Linked DNA regions of Homo sapiens: all the other regions are linked to region 2. The links are contacts of gene promoters, found by promoter capture Hi-C in human tissues and cell types (Jung and others, 2019). All regions are on one chromosome and are shown on one strand. Each heading gives the region's core, a stretch centred on a gene start or on the middle of the fragment in contact. The rest is flanking DNA. Distances are from core to core; before and after follow the strand shown.

Region 1 (4,951 bases), core at 446-2,945, 910 kb before region 2:
ATAGCCTGAAAGCACTGAGGCCACTGACAACCCATAGCCTTCCTATCAAAAATCCTTAACCCAGCAGGTTTCCTAACAGGGGATCTAAATCTTAATTAATTACCATACAAAGGTCCAACCAGATCTAGGAGGAACTCCCTTCAGGACAGGATGATAGATGGCTCCTCCCAGGCAATTAAGGAAAAAAGACACAATGGGTATTCAGTAAGTGATAAGGAAACTCTTGTAGAATCAGAGTTAGGAAAATTGCCTAATAATTGGTCTGCTCAAACCTGCAAGCTGTTTGCACTCAGCCAAACTTTAAAGTACTTACAGAATCAGGAAGGAGCCATCTATATCAATTCTAAGTTAATATGGACTGAATGAGGTCTTATTAATAGCAAAAAATAATTGAAATCCCAAACTTACAAGGTTTTCAACAAAAGTAAAGTTTGCTAAAAGAGTTAACAGTGTAACATGTATTATCCTAACTTCTAATCTTATGGAAATCAGACCTTATCAGTGCCCCTGAAAGCTCAAGTCCATCAGCACAGAGCCATACAACTAATACCCCCACTTACATGGTTTTAGGAATGGCCACTGCTACAGGAACTGGAATAGCTTGTTTATCTACTTCATTATCTTACTACCACACACTCTCAGAGGATTTCTCAGACAGTTTGCAAGAAACAATGGAATCTATCCTTACTCTATGATCCCAAATAGACTCTTTGGCAGCAGTGACTCTCCAAAACCACCAAGGCTTAGACCGCCTCACTGCTGAGAAAGGAGGACTCTGTGCCTTCTTAGGGGAAGAGAGTGTTGTTTTTACACTAACCAGTCATGGATAGTAAGAGATGCCACCCGGTGTTTACAGGAAAAGACTTCTGAAATCAGACAACGCCTTTCAAACTCTTATACCAACCTCTGGAGTTGGGCAACATGGCTTCTTCCCTTCCTAGGTCCCGTGACAGCCATCTTACTATTACTCACCTTCAGGACCTGTATTTTTAACTTCCTTGTCAAATTTGTTTCCTCTAGGATCAAGGCCATCAAGCTACAGATGGTCTTACAAATGGAACCCCAAATGAGCTCAACTAACAACTTCTACCAAGGACCCCTGGACTGACCTGCTGGCCCTTTCACTGGCCTAAAGAGTTCCCCTCTGGAGGACACTACAATTGTAGGGCCCCTTCTTCGCCCCTATCCAGCAGGAAGTAGCTACAGTAGTCATCGCCCAATTCCCAACAGCAGTTGGGGTGTCCTGTTTAGAGGGGGGATTGAGAGGTGAAGCCAGCTGGGCTTCTGGGTCGGGTGGGGACTTGGAAAACTTTTCTGTCTAGCTAAAGGATTGTAAATGCACCCATCAGCACTCTGTAAAAAATGCACCAATCAGCACTCTGTGTCTATCTAAAGGTTTGTAAACGCACCAATTAGCACTCTGTAAAAATGCACCAATCAGTGCTCTGTGTCTAGCTAAAGGTTTGTAAATGCACCAATCAGCACTCTGTAAAAATGGGCCAATCAGCACTCTGTAAAATGGACCAATCAGCAGGATGTGGGCAGGGCCAAATAAGGGAGTAAAAGCTGGCCTCTCAAGCCAGCAGCAGCAACCTGCTCAGGTCCCCTTCCACACTGTGGAAGCATTGTTCTTTCACTCTTCACAATAAATCTTGCTGCTGCTCACTCTTTGGGTCTGCACTACCTTTATGAGCTGTAACACTCACTGTGAAGGTCTGCAGCTTCACTCCTAAAGTCAGCAAGACCACAAACCCACCGGGAGGAACAAACAACTCTGGACCACCACCTTTAAGAGCTATAACACTCACTGTGAAGGTCTGCAGCTTCACTCCTGAAGTCAAGTGAGACCACGAACCCACTGAAAGGAGGAAACTCCAGACACATCTGAACATCTGAAGGAACAAACTCCAGACACACCATCTTTAAGAACTGTAACACTCACTGCGAGGGTCCACAGCTTCACTCTTGAAGTTAGCGAGACCAAGAACCCACTGGAAGGGACCAATTCTGTACACAATTACGTTGGACAATTCCAACATAGCAAGAAAAGTCAAGAGTACAGAATCAAGTTATACTGGAGGAAAGCATTGCTTTTCTAGGACTTCAAGATAAACATTTCAGCATCAGGTTAGAATAGCAGAGTTAGAAGAGGAGAAAAAAGTCACAGGAACTGGCATAAAGGTTGAAGGAGAGTTATTATCCAAGCCAAACAAAAATATACACCTTTTTTTTCTTTTTGAGATGGAGTCTGGCTCTGTCACTTAGGCTGGAGTGCAGTGGCCTGATCTTAGCTCACTGCAACCTCTGCCTCCCCGGTTCATGGAATTCTCCTGCCTCCACCTCCCGAGTAGCTGGGATTACAGGCATGCACCACCATGCCCGGCTAATTGTTTGTATTTAGTAGATACGGAATTTCACCATGTTGGCCAGGCTGTTCTTGAACTCCTGACCTCAGGTGATCCACCCGCCTTGGCCTCCCAAAGTGCTGGGATTACAGGTGTGAGCCACCATGCCTGGCCAAAATATACGACTTTTTAAGGGGAGGAAGGAGAGCTGAAGGCAATTATGCATAACTGCAAAATACATGCAGCAAGATACAGCAAGAGGTGAGCCTCTGAAATATGAATTTGAGAAATTTCAAGGGGAAAACTACCTTGAGAAATGAAATTACCATTCCATGAAACTATCATTTCTTAGTTAAACCTGAACTGGAAAAATTAAATAGATTTCAGAAAAAAATGTGTCAAAAATAGAAACTGTCTGCAGTTTAGAGGGTAGCTGTTAAAGAAACAGATTTTATAATTTATAATCAAGACCAGCTGGGCACGGTGGCTCACATCTGTAATCCCAGCACTTTGGGAGGTTGAAGCAGGCAGATTAGCTGAGGTCAGGAGTTTGAGACCAGCTTGGTCAATGTGGTGAAGCCTTATATCTACTAAAAATACAAAATTAGCTGTGCATGTTGGCATGCACCTGTAGTCCCAGCTACTCGGGAGGCTCAGGCAGGAGAATTGCTTGAACCTAGGAGGCAGACGTTGCAGCGAGCCAAGATCACACTATTGCACTCCAGCCTGGTGACAGTGTGAGACTCTGTCTCAAAAAAAAAAAAAGTTATTTTTAAAATGAAAAACACATCTTACTTTTTGGTACAATTTGTGTATAGAATTACATACATTAATTAGAATTTCAACTCTTAGTATCTTTAACTTTAGTAGAAATCAAGGAAGCAAGAAATGTTTAAATGTCTCTCACATGTCATTATTTAATAGATAAGAATCATTTTATAGTTTTTAAGCACATGGTTTTCCATAACATAATTTTTATGTATATTAATAAATCCTAATATATTTAGTCTTCCCATAAAATTTAAGAAGCCAAGAATAAACTTATATTTATGTCCAGTAATGTGTTTCTGGTTTTAAAAATCCTATGTGACAATGACCCAGACAATTAATCAGCATCTATTATTTAATTTAACATAACTTTGAGATTTCATATTATGTAAAAAGTTTATTTATAAATGTTTATCCCATTTACATTTACCTAATTTATTTATTTTAGGCAATTCATCAATTGAGTATACAAACTGAAATATTAGACAAAGCTAGAATCTTTTCAAATTATTTCTGTGTCAACAATTTTTATAGCTTATGAGTATCAGGTGTTCACCTAAGTAAGAGCCTCAAATTTAACTCAGAAGATAGAGGTATTTTTATTAAACCAATAATATTAACTTAGTCTTACTTATTAAAGAGTTGCACAAATAGAGTCATTCTATTTTAGGTTGGTTTTATAGTTTTATAAACTTTGTGACAAACATTGATATCTTAAGACATCTAGGAGAGACATATATAAGAATGTTTGATCAGTAAACCCAGGCAAAAATATATGCTGACAATTTAAAGATATCTCTATTTTTATTTTACTAATAATTTTTAAACCAGCTTATTTATTAAGAATTTACTAAAGTTGTGTGAAATTGAAGGCATTTGGTTGAATTAGTGTACATTTTATATGAGTGTTCATTTATGTAAACCAATCCTTTTTTACTTTTTTTTTTTTGAACTGTTAGACTTTTTTTTTTTAATTAAACTTTAAGTTTTAGGGTACATGTACACATTCTGCAGGTTACTTACATATGTATACATGTGCCATGCTGGTGCACTGCACCCACTAACTCGTCATCTAGCATTAAGTATATCTCCCAATGTTATCCCTCCCCTCTCCCCCCACCCCACAACAGTTCCCAGAGTGTGATGTTCCTCTTCCTGTGTCCATGTGATCTCACTGTTCCATTCCCACCTATGAGTGAGAATATGCGGTGTTTGGTTTTTTGTTCTTGTGATAGTTTACTGACAATGATGATTTCCAATTTCATCCATGTCCCTACAAAGGACATGAAATCATCATTTTTTATGGCTGCATAGTATTCCATGGTGTATATGTGCCACATTTTCTTAATCCAGTCTATAGTGGTTGGACATTTGGGTTGGTTCCAAGTCTTTGCTATTGTGAATAATGCCTCAATAAACATACGTGTCCAGGTGTCTTTATAGCAGCATGATTTATAGTCCTTTGGGTATATACCCAGTAATGGGATGGCTGGGTCAAATGGTATTTCTAGTTCTAGATCCCTGAGGAATCGCCACACTGACTTCCACAATGGTTGAACTAGTTTACAGTCCCACCAACAGTGTAAAAGTGTTCCTATTTCTCCACATCCTCTCCAGCACCTGTTGTTTCCTGACTTTTTAATGATTGCCATTCTAACTGGTGTGAGATGGTATCTCATTGTGGTTTTGATTTGCATTTCTCTGATGGCCAGTGATGATGAGCATTTTTTCATGTGTTTTTTGGCTGCATAAATGTCTTCTTTTGAGAAGTGTCTGTTCATGTCCTTTGCCCACTTTATGATGGGGTTGTTTGTTTTTTTCTTGTAAATTTATTTGAG
Region 2 (4,339 bases), core at 366-2,865:
AGCCAAGATAACTTTGGGAGACATTTAGTTTAATAGTTTAAATAATTACAGTCCTTCCCCAAAACTCAATTGCCTTTGTAAAGCTAATGAGAGACCACCAGACAACGGGGATAGATGAGCCTGAATTCTGTTAAGTGTAGACATAAGTGATTGCCAGCCATTATTCCAGAGGTCACAAGATATGCAACTTCCCCAATTACTCCTACAGATAACATCACTATTGTAGAATCTAGGATTGGCCTTTTTGGGTATATTTTTAAGTTTTTTGCATGTTTGACTACTGATGGCTCCACCTGGACCCACCAACTGTTCCTGTGGCTCCACCCAGAAACAACTCAGTAGGCAGGAGGACCATCTCCCATACCCCTATGACTGCACCAGTCAGCAGCAAGCACCCATTGCCTAGCCACCCCTACCCCTTTCCCCAGACTACCTTTGAAAAGAAACCTAGCCCCCAAATGCTCCAGGAGGCCGATTTGAGTAATAATATAACTGATTTGAGTAATAATAAAACTTCTTCCATTTTTCCACTCGATGTTGTGTAAAACTCTTTCTCCATTGCAATCCCTATACCTTGATAAATCATCTGTATCTGGGCAGCAGGCAAGAAGAATCCACTGGGCCACTATATCTGGATCTAAAGGCCATGTATTTTCCACTACAAGCTAATTAACAAGAGGTATCCTTTCCCCTCAGAAACAACTGGACACACCTGTGTAGATTCTACATAAAGAACAGCTAAAGAAAATCTGGTTAATACTTAGCCTAGTATACTTACCAGGAAATCAGCAACAGTCTTTCTCTGATATTCCTGAAATTGTAATCCCCACCTTACACTTGTATCACTTGTTTTCTAAATATTAATATACGGTAAAAATCAGGTGGCTGTGTGCTATGGGAAAATCTGGAGGAAAAGATAATTTTAAAAATATACTTTTTTGGCTCTGCTTGCTACTGAAAAAAAATTTTTTTAAGAAAATATACTCTTCCCTCCTTAACATTAAAGTGAATCCACAGAAGATGTGTTTGGTGAAGTGTCTGGTGGTGAATACTAAGTAGAAAGGGCAGACTAACACAGCCTTAGAGCCTGGATAAAATCCTGGTGTCCTGAAAGTTTGACCGTGGGAAATCTGGAGGATAAGGTCTATCTCTGGTCTGTCTATCTAACTTCTGCACCTTGCACATAGTAGAGGCCTGACAGATACATGCCAACCCATGTGTGCATGCAATAATTCAATCCACAATTAGGAACATTGTGCCAAAAGGAGACCCACCAACTAAAAAGAAATACAAATTCTTAGCTTTCTGTGACTACCCTTTACTGCCTTTGCTGGCGAAAACAAAGAAGAAAAGAGGAGGCTTCAGTATTCAAATACTGCCAGTTCCGCAGTGAATTCTAAAAATGGTTACTCTTGGGATACAAGGAACCCCCACGAGGATAAACAACCTCTGAGGTTACCTGAATGCCCCAGCAAAGGGCACGACTACTTCCGGAGCCGCACCGGAACCCCTTGGCGGATTATGTGGGTTCCTGCGGGAACGATTTAAGAATAGGACTACTTCCTGCTTCTGGATATGGGCCGGTGAAGGGAAAGGAAATAGCTCTACGAGCGGCATCCTGCCTGCGTTAGCGGCGGTGGAGGAGGAGGCAGAGAGGAGTGGAGGGCGGAGTAGACGGAGGAGGCTGCTGCAGAGAAGAAAGTGTCAGAGCCGGTAAGTGAGCCAGTCACCTTAGAGCAGGGGACAGCGGACAGCGCCCCAGGGCTCGCTTCGCAGATATGTGGTCCCAAGTTGCTGAGCTGCCCCATGGGGTCAGGTCGGTCGCCTGTCAGTCGGCGCCGAGAAGAGACTGTTGGGGCGCTGGGGCCGGGCCTCGCGGAGCGCCAGAGTGCGCTCTCGCTGGCTGACAGCCTATCTCGGGAGCCAGAGGAGGCCCCGGGCTTTGTCCTGCCTGGTGGTGCTGGGGTTTCGCATCCTGGACAGCTTCCCCAGACAGTGTTTGGAATTCAGGGAAGGAAGAAAGTACGTGCGCCCCCATTTAACCCTCGGGACCTGGCGAAATCCTGCTACGTGGGTAGTGAACATTGTATCGGGGACTGAAGGAAATGCTTGTAAAGAGTGTTAGTCTGGAGCCATACTTTCCCTGCCCTGTTCAAGCTCCCTGGACTGTCGGAAGCGGAGTTGTTTGTAAAGGCAAATGCAGACGCCTCCTCCTCCTGTCACTTCGGGACAAGTTAACAATCTTCAGATTCGTTATTAAAGCCTCGTGTACCCTATGTGATCTATCAGGTTAGTACTGCTGTGGGTATCTGGTGCTTGTTCTGTAAATATACTTGATGTCGAGATCACAGTTAAATATCTCCAAGCACTTTTTGAAGAGAAACAAGACTGACCTAACAGTCGGGACTATTTAGCATACTTTCCCTCACCTTTACTTTAATCGTTTTAGCATGCAGAGTAAGGATGGTAATCTTAAATGTACTAGATTAAGTTATTGTGCATCTGCAGAAGGCCTGTGGTATAATAGGATATGAAACTCTTGATAACTGACGAAATGAGTGAAATGATTATATAAAGATTGTTACTGTAAAGATCAGAAATAGCTTTTATTAAGTTCCTGCTTTTCTGTTGTCTTAGGTTCGGCTTTAGAGTGTGGTGAAGGGTACTTTTCATGGTGCATGGAAGGAAAGCCAATGCGCAGGTAGGCATTTAGGAAGAAAACCTTTGGTTTCACTGATTAAAATTCAGCATGTAATAATTTAAATTTTTAAAAAAGAGTTTCAATCTTACTAAATTCTGCTTGGAACTAATGAGTCTTGTTCTACAATAAATCAAAAGTAATATTAAGAATTAATAGCTTTTTAATAGAATAAAATACAGAAGTTGTTTCTGAAAAGTGCTGTGGATTGTATGTAGTGCTAAACACTTAAATTTTCCTTTTTTCATGTTTTTTACAGTAAATAATCATTAAGTTCATTATGATACTATATGGATTTATTATAATCTTCAGTTCCCTATAAAATGTAGAGGATTCTGTTCCCATGTAAGAATCATAATTATTTATAATATACTGTACTGCATGCCTAATTATGGTTTTGGTTATTTCCTTGATGTTCAATCATACATTTGTTCTGTTAATTAAAATAGCTGCATTGTAGGGAAGATTGTATAAGGACTAAAATAGGTATTAGACATAATAACTTAGTCCATAGAAAAATAGAACAATGTCTGGGAAAATATAGACAATAAATAGGCCCTCCCAACCCTAGAATTTAATAATGTTTTTTCTCATTTTGTTCTAACAAATGAGACTAGAATCTTTATGATACAAAATCATCCCAGTTCTATTTCTTTGGTTTTTACATTTGTTTTCTATTTATTGAACTCTATTTAATCATTTGTTATTTAACATCAAAGATAAACAACTTCTGCAGTTCTTTTAAGAGAAGAAACATTTTATAATGGGAATATGACTTATAACTCAGAACTTGGAGCAAGAACCAGAATGTATATCTTTATCCAAATCTGTTATTGGTTTATCAATTGACCTTGAGCTGTTCACCTTCTCTGTACCCCAGTTTACTTCTTTAGTGTATCTGATCAGGATATTGGGGATTAATGAACATTTGCAAATGCTTTAAGATCTCCAGATGAAAAGATGTTATCAAGATGAAAAATACCATTATCTTATTTATATTTTACTCTGTAGTAGGAATAATATTTTACCACAATGTACATGAAAAAATTAACAACATAATATTAAATACTTCATCCCTTTACTTCTAACATTATTGCAAAACCCACTGATTGTGTCTCATCTCCAGCTACCATAAAATGTCATATCTTATATAATTGCTAAAATAAGAGCTTATTATTTTTTAAAAGAATAGCAGAGTGTGGGAATGTTTTTGGTTTATCAGTAGTCTATATAAAATATTTGCTTAATCACTCATACCTGCTCCTTTTTTCTTGCTTTATTACATAATACTGTCAGCTATTCAGAATCATGCTGGATAATTCTAGTGCTGTTAATCGTTAAGCTACGGCTCTTTCTTCATCACTGTCACTTGGCCAGAGCCTAGCCTACTCACATTGGTCTCTGGTCTTACTTTCACCTGCTTCCTACATTCAATCATGGTCACACTTCCCTATCCTTTTCTTATTGGGCTGTCATTTTTGCTGATTTAACCCAGAAGGCAGTCTCTGTAATGCTGGGTTTATACTCAGTTGCTATTAAAGAAGCTTTGAGAAGTAACTTTTTATATTGAGACTATTTGAATACATGTTCATTCTGTCTACTAGATTGTGAGCTCTTTTAGTCTCATGTCTTCCTATATTT
Region 3 (4,840 bases), core at 996-3,495, 960 kb before region 2:
TTTGGAAAGGGATGTCCCCTTCCGTTGTGAGATGTGTCCCTGGCGTTGGAATCTACTTTGGCACTCTCTAGTCTTTGAAGCGGTATTTCTTGCGAGGCCATCCCCCAACCGCCCTGGAGTCAATCATGCTGGGGGTGGGCTCTCTCTCTGTTGCAGGGGTCTGTATGTTACCCATCACTGTAATCAAGATGTGCTATGAGAGTGGGAAATATGGCTATGAGAGTATCTACGCTGCCGTGAGGAGCATCTATCGCAGTGAGGGGCACCGGGGCCTCTTCAGTGGCCTGACAGCAACTCTCCTTCGAGATATGCCCTTTTCAGGAAACTACCTGATGTTTTACAACCAGACCAAAAACATAGTGCCCCATGACCAGGTGGATGCAACCTTTATTCCTATTACAAATTTCAGCTGTGGGATATTTGCTGGTATTCTCGCCTCACTGGTAACTCAACCTGCGGATGTTATCAAAACTCATATGCAGCTTTACCCACTGAAGTTTCAATGGATTGGCCAAGCAGTGACACTTACTTTCAAAGACTATGGACTACGTGGCTTCTTCCAAGGTGGCATCCCCCGAGCCCTCTGCAGAACTCTAATGGCAGCAATGGCGTAGATGGTGTATGAAGAGATGATGGCCAAGATGGGCCTGAAGTCCTGACCAAGAGAGGACTGGGAAAGGGTGAAATCTATTGCCCTGCTTGGTTTCTGCCAAGGGCTGCTGCTGCTTACTATTCTGCAGTAAGATGAAGTCCTACCTGGAAAACCAGGCAGAAATTGTGTTGCCTTTGCCTTCGGTAATCCCTTTAAGGAGAAAAATATATGGACCTGATTTGAGCCTTCACAATCTCCAAAAGAGGAGTCACCAATACATAGAACACACTGGGGTGTTAGGAGAGAGTTTTGCATACCCTGAGAGGCTACTTGGAAAGGCATTTTCCCAGGAGAGCTCTGTCAGGTGGCTGCGCTTCTGGCCCACACCTACACCACAGGGTCTCCTTGGGTACGTTCTTGGGCAAGGAATCACAAAGCCAGAGAAGCTGTAAGCTGCCTGCCGGGCCTGAGGAGCTCCAGCCAGGGAGGACTGGATGTGAGGAGAGGAGTCACTGTTACCAGGTCACAGACTGACTGAGGTGATGGTAGGATGAGGAGGAATAGATGCCATTCTTTAATTGGTTCTCAGTCAACTTCTCAGAGGCTCTGGGGAACGGGACAGTGGCTTTCTAGCCTCTGAATGTCCAAATAAAATTTTTTGGTCTTGGCCCCTGTATTGTTTCACCTCTAAATTCTGGCATTTTTTTTTTCCCTGCAATTAAAGTGCTTTACTTTAAAAAAAAAAAGTTTCTAGAGTAGCTCAGAGAAGCAACTAGAAATCTAGAAGACAAGACTTCAATCAAAAGACAGTCACCACACTTCCGTCAGGCTGGTGCAAGAGCTGTGTACTTGTCTGATTCTCAGAGAAGAGAATGAAGGTTCTTTAAAAAAATATTTTAAGGACATGTCTATGCATATATACAATATATTTTTTAAACTTTTAAGTTCAGGGGTACATGTGAAGGTTCATTATATAGGTAAACTTGTGTCATGGGAGTTTGTTGTATAGATTATTTCATCACCCAAGTATTAAGCCTAGTACCCTTTAGTTATTTTTCCTGATCCTCTCCCTTGTCCAAACCTCTACTCTCCGATAGGCCCCAGTGTGTGTTGTTCCACTCGATGTGTCTGTGTGTTCTCATCATTTAGCTCCTATTTATAAGTGAGATTATGCAGCATTTAGTTTTCTGGAGAATGGGGTTTCTTAATCTTCTGTTATGTAAATCCCCTTGGCCATAGGGTGAAGCCTATGAACCTTTTCTCAGAATAATATTTTAAAATGTATAAAGCAAAGTGCATGGGATTACCAAGGAAACCAATTCTACTGAAATATGGTTATCAAAATAGTAAAAAATCCCAAATATATGCTATTGCAATATATGTGCTTCCTTATTAAAGCATTAAATAACATTAACTGGTGGGTCTAATTATTAACGTAACTTCAGTAGTGATGAGCATAAATACATCTTGGTTATCCACAAGCTCTGTAGCTTACAATATCTGCAATGAGTGTTAGAAATATTACGATATCTGTAATTTCAACCAGTGACAAGGTCACAATTACTGCTTATACAGCTGTGGTTAGTTTAATGCCTACATTCATAATTAAAGAATATTCCAAGTTTCAGTTTGCAGTTAGTGAAAATAAAGTCATATATTTTTTTCTACTCATTTTAATGGATTTCTTTGAATTTTATTTATAGGCTACAGGTTAAGAGCCCCAATTTTAGACTGTGAACTTCTTGAAGGGGAAATTTTTGCTTTATTCACTTTTGCACTCATGTTATCTCTATTTATATAAGTGCTGTGTGTCCTTTTACTATTAGTAAGTGACATATTTCTTCTTCCGAGCACTTATGCAAATATCTGAAAATTGGGGCAAGAGATCCCAAACACGGTGCAGATTACCAATCACAAAGATGATTCTTGGGTTATCTTTGTGCAGAAAAACCCACTCACCTCATTCTACAGCCATACACTTTATTCCTCTTCCCAACCACACTAGCGAAATTCTGTGGAGCAATCACCCATAGGGTTCTACCACAGGACCTGGCTGCTCTTCTGGACTACATGGACAGCCATTTCTTTAATATTGTCTTCTGCAAGAACTTGGATTTTACGATAGCAATTGTCTACCTAACCTTCCCGGAGGAAAGAAAATTCACGCCTTTCCAGAAAGTCACAATTATTTTCTCATCTCTCTGTCATTTTAATTGCTTTATTGGAGAGTTTCTTTCTGTCATCCATTGGTTCATGTTCAGCTAGTCAGCCTTCCAGCTGACTATAATTTCTTGTTTTACAATCAGGTTAAATTTGAATTGAGCAATTTGTACTTGGTAAATATTCAAGAAAAGTTATTATGCTAACATTATTGAAGAACTTCTTGTTGAATTAAAGTGTTGTTTGTCCCTTTGATATCCCACATGTCTGGTACTTGGATTCTTAGATCTGCAGCTGTGATGCTTTAACTCTCATGCCCTGTTTCACAATTTATTGACTTCATTTAATAGTTGAGAGAAAATGAGGACTGAAAGTGATTTATCAGATGGGATATTTCTTCTATTTACCTCATTCCTGCCATCTATATCTCATTACGAAATATGGAAAGTAAAGAAATACAATGTGAAATATCAAAATGTATTATAAGGAAAATCTCTTTAAACTATATGGTCAATAAAATCAGTAACAACAACAAAAAGATCTCACAATGACATGAGCTTTGAAAAGCTATTGGATGTTACTGAATACTTTTCATCTTATTGATCAAAACATCCTCCTGAAAGAATAAGTTTCTTTGAAATCAGAAAATTAAGCCAGAAAATTCATTCTTCCTGTTCCATTCCACTTATTTCACAAACATTTCTTTTCTCATTGTCTAGACACAAAGAGCCGCTGTTAGAGGATTCTGAGGAGTTTAAACTGCTGAGAATTTGATCACATAACTGTTTGGAATTACCACAACTCCGAGGTGTATCAGGGATTGTTATACGTCTTGAAGAGACAAGGAAACTGAGGCACAGAAAATGAAAAATGACTTGTTAAAGTCATCTATCTATTAATTGTCAACAGCAGAATTAGAATTCTACGTTTCCGAACTTCTATCCAATTGTCTTTTAAAAGGGCAGGCACGGCCAGGTGCGGTGGCTCATGCCTGTAATCCCAGCACTTCGGGAGGCTGAGGTGGGTGGATCATGAGGTCAGGAGATCGAGACCATCCTGGCTAACATGGTGAAACTCTGTCTCTACTAAAAATACAAAAAAAAAAATTAGCCAGGTGTGGTGGCCGGCGCCTGTAGTCCCAGCTACTCGGAAGGCTGAGACAGGAGAATGGCGTGAACCGGGAAGGCAGAGCTTGCAGTGAGCTGAGATCATGCCACTGCACTCCAGCCTGGGGGACAGAGCGAGACTCCGTCAAAAAAAAAAAAGGGCAGGCGCAAATCCATATTTATAGTAAAGTAACTTTCGCAGATTGTGCCTCTATAGTCTCCTTTTCAAAATTTTTTTTTCAGTTTTTCTAAAACCAGCTATTTATTCACTATGAATTCATTTCCCCCCGCCCCAGGAAGAGCACTAGCCATCAGTTCTAACTTGGAAAGCTGAGCCTAAGCTTGCTCTCTTTGGTCATTCTGGAGCAGTTGGTGCAGACTTTAGTTTTCCTCCAGTGAAAATAGAATTCATTTCAGATGAATTGTCTATTTCTTCAAGAAATTCCTGTGTAACTTTGCTAAGTATTTATTGAGCAGGTGCTATATGTAGAACCTTGCACTTCCACTCATTTGGAGGACTGGGATGTATAACTTAAGCTATTCTTAAGGGCTTTTAAGCCAAACAGACATCCTGGTCTTTTTCCTGGGAAAGGAACTACAGAGTTTCCAGACACAGTGATCTGAAACACTTCCGAGACATAAGCTGCTTTTGAGAGATGGCCTCGTAGAAAGAAAAGTTGACCTACTCTTTCAACACATTGTCTGCAAGTCTGTTTTTGTTCATTCCAATCACTTCATGTGAGCAAAGGATGAACTGAATTCTTGTCCTCTAGGAATAATTGTTTAAATAAAGAAGGTTTTATTGTTTTTTCTTTTCCTCTTCCTTTCTTCCTTCTTTTCTCTCATTATTTTATTTTTCCCAAGAATGTTAATTGAGGTTAGAACCAAAGAACAGAGATAGGATATGAATAAAACATGGTTTTTGCCCGAAGGAGATAGACATGTCATAAGTTACAATGTAATATTTTTTTCTGTAATAAGG

The links. The method cuts DNA at HindIII sites, captures the fragments that hold promoters and counts their contacts. A contact is called where the count stands out against the background at its distance.
Region 1: a fragment that was not itself captured here is called in contact with the fragment with the promoter of KLHL20 in region 2 in 1 of the 25 tissues and cell types used here (mesendoderm cells).
Region 3: a fragment that was not itself captured here is called in contact with the fragment with the promoter of KLHL20 in region 2 in 1 of the 25 tissues and cell types used here (aorta).

What each region holds. Positions count from the first base shown.
Region 1 is chr1:172,802,405-172,807,355 of GRCh38, forward strand. No RefSeq gene overlaps it. Among named protein-coding and RNA genes, the nearest start is that of FASLG, 150 kb to the left of the region's middle. The HindIII fragment of the contact is 8,961 bases long and covers 1-4,951 here.
Region 2 is chr1:173,713,366-173,717,704 of GRCh38, forward strand. It overlaps KLHL20 (kelch like family member 20), which reads left to right and starts at 1,616. Exons shown (of 12, transcript NM_014458.4): 1 at 1,616-1,713; 2 at 2,638-2,701. The coding sequence starts at 2,679. It also overlaps a transcript of ANKRD45 not described here. RefSeq lists enhancers at 1,520-1,709, 1,790-2,159. The HindIII fragment of the contact is 13,268 bases long and covers 1-4,339 here.
Region 3 is chr1:172,748,844-172,753,683 of GRCh38, forward strand. It overlaps the pseudogene SLC25A38P1. Among named protein-coding and RNA genes, the nearest start is that of FASLG, 92 kb to the left of the region's middle. The HindIII fragment of the contact is 6,733 bases long and covers 1-4,840 here.